Linked DNA regions of Homo sapiens: region 1 is linked to region 2. Evidence: promoter capture Hi-C in human tissues and cell types (Jung and others, 2019). All regions are on one chromosome and are shown on one strand. Each heading gives the region's core, a stretch centred on a gene start or on the middle of the fragment in contact. The rest is flanking DNA. Distances are from core to core; before and after follow the strand shown.

Region 1 (3,475 bases), core at 10-2,509, 270 kb before region 2:
CTGCTAGGAGGGTGAGCTCTGGAGGCTGAGTGTTGGGAGTCACATGCTGCTTCCTCTGCTCATTGGCATGTGTCCTTATGCGTTACCTACCCACTGGGCCTCCTTTTTCATCTGTAAAATGGGTATGATAATTGTCACCACCTCACAGAATTGATATGAAGATTAGATTAGTTAATAAATGAGACAGTCTCAGAACTGTGTCTCACTCAATATCACCTGTTTTATTTCATGCCACCAATTATTTCATAAAATTACTGTTTCCTCATATATAGCTTTCTCTCCACTGGAATGTGGCTGTACAGGGCAGGCACTATGGTCACTGTGCTGGTGACCATCCTATCCTCACTGCTGGGTCACCACAACCTCGAAGAGTGTCTGTCACACAGCAGGGACTTGAATCAGTTTGGATCAGGTTTTTTTGCTTTTTCTTTTATTTTTGAGTTTGGATCAGGTTTGACTATGTGTAACAGATCAACTCAAAACAACAGTGGCTTTAAAAGGGAGCAGTTTATCTGCCTCTCAGGAATAAGAGGTGTCTGGAGGCGTACACCCCAGGAAAAGTTTTGTGAAACTGTCATTGTCAGAGGTCCAGACTCCTTCCATCTTGCTCCTGCAGCAGGTTTAGTGTGTCTACTTCATGGTCCATGATGGCTGCTTAAGCTGCAGCCATCACATCTGAATTCTGTGTCAGGAACAAAAAGGCACAAAGAGGCATAAAAAGGCATACCAGTTTTTTTTGGCGAAAATTTCTAGCAGTTCTATACAATAATTCAGTTTACATCTCATTGGCCTAACCTTAATGCATGGTTACATCAGCTAGGAAGCTTATCCCACTGGGAAGGGCAGTGTTATTCCCACCGGGAAGGGCAGCATTATTCCCAGTTAAAGTCAGGATTCTAAGGGACAGGAGGAAATATTGAGAAGAAATGAGCAGTCTCTGGCCAGTGCTCAGTAACTCTCAGACAGATAGATAAATGGTCCAGCCCGCCTCTGCCCTTTCCACCCACGCCCTGGGGGTTCCCACTGCCCTGCAGGCCAGCTGACCTGTGATTTGCGCCAGCTTTGTCTCTAGAAGGCTGTGACTACTGCCTGAGAGGGAGTCAAAAGGTAGGAAGGAGGCTGGCTCAGGAGAGGGGAATGGTGCAAGGCAGAAGCAGCCACTCTTCCATCCTTGGCATACCCATCCTTGACAATGACACTGTCATCAGTCATCCCTTCCATGCCCAGGGCCTGCTGTGGCAGGGACTTTGGGGGCTTGCTCCAAAGGAGTGAGGATAGCTAAGGACAAGACCAATCTTCTTTACTTCCTAAGATTTCATCACCCCAGGACTTCATCTGCTTGGTTACCAGATGGTTATCACCATCTACCCCCACAGGACACAAGCTGTCACCTTGTGGCCACCGTCAGTGCGAGTCAGCAGTCCTCTGGGCAGGTGTGAAGGTTCCAGCTGATGAATGGGAAACTTCAGGCCGGAGAGGGAGGGCAGAAGCCCTACTCAGGCTCTTGGGTCCCAAGAGCCCTGCATCCTCTTTGGCTCAAGGTGCAAAATCTTCTGAGAAGGTTGGGCCATAGTGGGTTCCGGAAACAGGTGCCAAGTCACAAGCTTCTGCTTCTGAAAGGGGAGAGCAGGGAGCTGGATTTGGGCAAATCTAGGCCAGGTTCACACATGCTGAGTGGACAGACTCTGGCTCCTACCTGGATCCTGCTCCTCTGCAGCTTTCTGTGCTCGTGGTCATTGTCCGTCTCGCTCTATCCTGGCCTCTTCTGCTGACCACCAGAGCCCCACAGACCACGACCTCTGGCCTGGGCTGAGTCTTCTGGCTGCTAGGAGTGGAGGATTCACAAAGTTCACAGTCTCATTAGTCCTCAGGAATAAAAGGTCCTACTTGGCTACTAGATGATTCCTTACCGCCATCACCAACACCAAAGCCAAGATCAAGGGAAGACCGTCACGGGTCTCTTGAGGACCTGAGCATGGAGGCGGGCACCAATGCAGAACACTGAGCTCTTCGTTGACTTTGGCAAAGTTCTTGTCCCATGCTATGCACTTTGCACCTAGCATCCTATTTCGTTTTCCCCTCAACCCCGTGCTGTTGAGACCATTGTTATTATCCCCATTTCACAGATGAGGAAACTGAGGTGTAGAGAGGTAGACTTGCCCAAGGACCTCACCTACAGGGAAGCCCCAGTGACCCTGTGGGGAGGTAAAAAAGGACATCTAGAAAACGTGTGATCTCCTCTTGGTGGCAGGGGCCTTGCTAGCAAAGCAAGAACATTGCAGACATGAATGCTGGATCTAGATATTTTGGTTATCACCTGGCATGACAGAGTGTTAGAGGTGGACTGACCCGGGAGAGGACCAAATCCAAAATTCTCCTTATGCAGAGGAGGAAACGCAGGCCAGAGTGGGGAAGCACCTTGCCCTGGCTTCATGTCAGCAGGTCCAACGTGCAGCCTGCTCTCATTTAGTTCGGACATTTCTTTTCCCTGATGAGTTGCTATTTTGTAAAAAGGCTTTTCTTTGGTTTAAAAAAAAAAAAAGTATTTCTGTCCTGTGGGCATGGTTGGATTTTCCCTCAACTTTTCACTAGCACCAAGTGCAAAAAAGGCTGAGGTTGTTACACAGTGACAAGCACCCCCTATCAGTATATTTTGGGAGGACAAACAACTTCAAGGGACTCAGCATCATCTTATCATGACACCTCCCACTCCCAAGAGTGATCTACGTAAGTATCATGCTAAACACTTCACAGTTACTCCATCGCATCCCCCAGTCCCTGACGGAGGAACTCCTCCTTACTTTTCGCGTCTTGTAGCTGAGGACACTGAGGTTTATCCAGGGAACCTATCCAAGATTACACACTTGATAAACAGCAGAACCAGCTCTAAAGGAGGGTTGGCAAACCACAGCCCACAAGTGAGATCCAACCAGCTGCCTATTTTTGCATGGCCCATGAGCTGAGAATAGTTCTTACACTTTTAGAGGATTGGTGGGGCGGGGGGGAAAGGACCAAAGAAGAATATTTCACGACTCGTGAAAATTATATGAATTTCAAATGTCAGTGTCCATAAATAAAGTTTTATTGGGACACTGCCATGCCCATTCATTTACAGATTGCTGCTGCTTTCGAGTAGTTGCAACAGAAATGGTACGGCCAGCAAAGCCTAAAATATTTACTGCCTGGCCCTTTACAGAAAAAGTTTGCTGACCACCCCCGCTCTAAAGCAAAGGCTCCTACCCCATGTTTTAATGTTCCAAGAAAGCTCCAAGGCTGGCATCAGAACTGTGAGCGTCAGGGTTTCCAGACCTTACCCTCAGAATGACGCCAGACAAGACAAGCCATGGAAATCACCAAACTTCTCTGGGGCTTAACTGCAAAATAAGGATAATCATCATGCCCTGCCTGGCTCCTAAAACTGTCAGAAGATGAAAACAAAATAATGTACATGAAAGCATTTTGTAATCCAGAAAGC
Region 2 (3,120 bases), core at 500-2,999:
GTTGATTCTGGAAGAGTTGGGGGCACTTGGTAAGTTGTTTGTGGCAAAGGCAAGGGCTGCAAAGCCCGTGACAGGAAGCAGGGTAGGTATAAAGTCAAGGATTAAGAACAGTACTTGGCACAAAATAGTTACTTGATGCTGAATGAATTAGTCTCCCTCCGTCATCTACTTCCCAGGGGCTAGATCCAGACAGAGGTCAAGAAGATGGGGCCTGTTGAAAGTTAAAGGACCTGCCGTCTGTTTCTTCTTTGAACAAGTGAAAGGTAGTAAAAAGTAGATGGCTTTCTACCATAGGTTTTAAGTTTAAGAACCCTAGGATGGTACTGTCACATTCTCTTAGGGAGGTCATAGCTGTGGGAACTGTCAACAGGTTGACTCATTTAAATGTGTCCTACATAAAGCAACATCAGATGAGTTCTGATTTACAAGTCTGCCAGGCTGGCCTGTGAGCCTCTGGGCAGAGTTCCCGTCCCATGCATTGCTGTAGCCTCAGTTCCTCCACATAGTAAATGCCCAAGTACCTATAGAAGAAATCGTGTGTGAGCCCACACTCTTTTTTTATATTTTAGAGACGGAGTCTGGCTCTGTTGCCCAGGCTGGAGTGCAGTGGCACAATCTCGGCTCACTGCAAGCTCCGCCTCACTGCAAGCCCCGCCTCACTGCAAGCTCCGCCTCACTGCAAGCTCCGCCTCCCGGGTTCACGCCATTCTCCTGCCTCAGCCTCCCCAGTAGATGGGACTACAGGTGCCCGCCACCATGCCTGGCTACTTTTTTGTATTTTTTAGTAGAGACGGGGTTTCACCATGTTAGCCAGGATGGGCTCTATCTCCTGTCCTTGTGATCCGTCCGCCACGGCCTCCCAAAGTGCTGGGATTACAGGCGTGAGCCACCGCGCCCGGCCCTGAGCCCACACTCTTTATTCGTTATGACGGTGCTGCAACTACCAATAAGTTGTGAGGGTTAAATGGGATGAGATGTCACAGTATTATTTGCCTGTTAGGGAGGTTTTAGGGCACGCGCCTCTTCTCTCCAAATTGGAATCACCCAAAGAGTTTTAGTAAATACTGGGCCCATCCAGGGTTAATTTTCTTCTAATTGGTTTGGGGTGCTGCTTGGACAGGGGGACTTTTAAAATTCTATACTGACCCACCAGGACTGACATGAGAACTACTCGCTTAGTAACTGTTAGAGGAGGCGCCAGCTGATCAGGACCTAAAGTTCATATTCTTTTTCATCTCCCCGTTGTCGCTGAAGCCTACCCCATAAACCCCTACCGTCCCTTTGCCCACAGCAGAGAATTTCCGGGAAAACGGGAAAGGTATGCAAGCATGCCCACACACGTGCACACACGGGTTCCCAAAAGACCTGCGTGTGGCCGCAGGGGCCTGCCCCGCCCTTCTCGGGCCCTTTCAGGTCCCGGCGCCCAGCGATCCCACCAGCACCTGGGTCCGGCGCGCGGCTCCCTCCCTCTCCGCGCCCCTCGGGGCTCCCTGCCCCGCCCGCGTGCCCCACCCTTCCTAGCTCTGCCCCATCGCTGCTCCCTGCCCCGCCCACGGGCCCCATCCTACCCCCACCTCGATCCGCCCCTCGCTCCTCCCTGCCCCGCCCACCGCGCCCCGTCCCTGTCCGCCCCTTCTGGCTCTCAGCACCCCCAAGACCGGTGCGCGCCCCGCCCCTCCTCCTCCTCTCGCGAGGCAGTCCCGACGCCGGAAGTGCCTGGAGCGCGCGACAGCGGCGGGGCGGGGCGGCCTGGAGGCTGTGGCGCGCGGCCGGCAGAGGGAGGGGAGAGGCCACTGGGGCCGTGTTAGTCTGCCGGTGGGGACTCTTGCAGGTACAGGCGCGGTCGGGGCTCCTCGTGGAGAGCCGGGGGCTCCTGCCGGCCTCTGACTGGGGTGTCGTTGCAGGGCCGTCCCCATGTTGCGTTTTCCGACCTGTTTCCCATCCTTCCGGGTGGTGGGAGAGAAGCAGCTCCCGCAGGAGATTATTTTCCTGGTCTGGTCGCCCAAGCGGGATCTCATTGCTTTGGCCAACACAGCTGGCGAGGTGAGTGAGCCGGCGGGAGCCCGCCTGTGCTGGGTCTGCTCCCGGGGGGCCCAAGAACACCGAGCCCGAGCCTGTTCATTCGGGCCACAGGCGGCCGGAGCCTCAGTTTCCCCTTCTGCAGACATGGCTGGCCACCTGCTACCCCTTCCCTGCCTCCCAGGACGGCAGTAAACTTTAAGTATATATGCGAAAGGTGATGTCTGTGCTATTTTCGGTACTTTTATGGCTAAAGTAACAGTTTTCACACAGCTTAACACCGTCACGCAATCCTGCTTCCCCAAGTCTTCTTCACTCATTGGTTTATTAGTTAAATGAACTTTTTAAAAAAGCCCACTATGTGCTGCTCATGAGCTAGACATAATGGTAGATGCAGGGACCCTGCCCTAAGTTTGCTTACAGTTTTAATAGCAGTAGGAAGAGTTATTGTCAAACTTCAGCTGCAAATGTGCCTGCATGTAGCTGCCACACAGGATATATTTAAGAACCTGGCTTCTCTTGTCCACGTTTTATAGTACGGGTTGGATAACCACCCTCCACTAAAAATACCTCTAAATTGGACAAGGAAGGCATGCATTGGATTCCAGACAGAACGTGCATGGGTGTTATCAGCATTTCTTGTTCACATAAAACTTCATCGAGTATAAACCAGTTGTACCCAACTTTCTGCTGAGAGTTATTACCTGCCAGCCATTTTGTAAGGAAACCTTCACCTGTGCATCTTTCCGCCTCTGGCTTGAGAGTTATCTGGCCATGTGAGAGTTGTATAGAGCCAAATTTGGAAACTAGGTGATAAGGAAATCTTAGCACCCTGCAGACTGTAGTCTGCACCATGTTATCTACCATGATCCAGTCGCCAGGGTATTGATGTCTAATTTTTCAGGGCCCTCCATGAAATCTAGCTAGTCTCCCTCCGCTGCCGGGATGCTTTGAAACTCTGTTGTGGCTCTAGAGAGCAGCAGGTGGTACCGTCACAGAAGTAGGAGGGAAGGTAGACGGGAGGCACATCCGTGCAATCAGATGGGTAGGCGTGATAGAGGGCACTGTTACATCCATTTTCTCAGTGAAGGAAGAAGCAAG

What was found. Contacts are between HindIII fragments. The study calls those that stand out against the background at their distance.
Region 1: a fragment that was not itself captured here is called in contact with the fragment with the promoter of ANAPC4 in region 2 in 1 of the 25 tissues and cell types used here (H1 embryonic stem cells).

Annotation. Positions count from the first base shown.
Region 1 is chr4:25,109,717-25,113,191 of GRCh38, forward strand. It overlaps LOC105374534 (a long non-coding RNA gene), which reads right to left and starts at 3,095. Exons shown (of 4, transcript XR_925488.2): 1 at 1,697-3,095; 2 at 1,392-1,613. The HindIII fragment of the contact is 5,012 bases long and covers 1-3,475 here.
Region 2 is chr4:25,375,514-25,378,633 of GRCh38, forward strand. ANAPC4 (anaphase promoting complex subunit 4) reads left to right here and starts at 1,750. Exons shown (of 29, transcript NM_013367.3): 1 at 1,750-1,831; 2 at 1,905-2,043. The coding sequence starts at 1,915. RefSeq lists a silencer at 1,453-1,872 and enhancers at 1,993-2,052, 2,083-2,152. The HindIII fragment of the contact is 8,136 bases long and covers 1-3,120 here.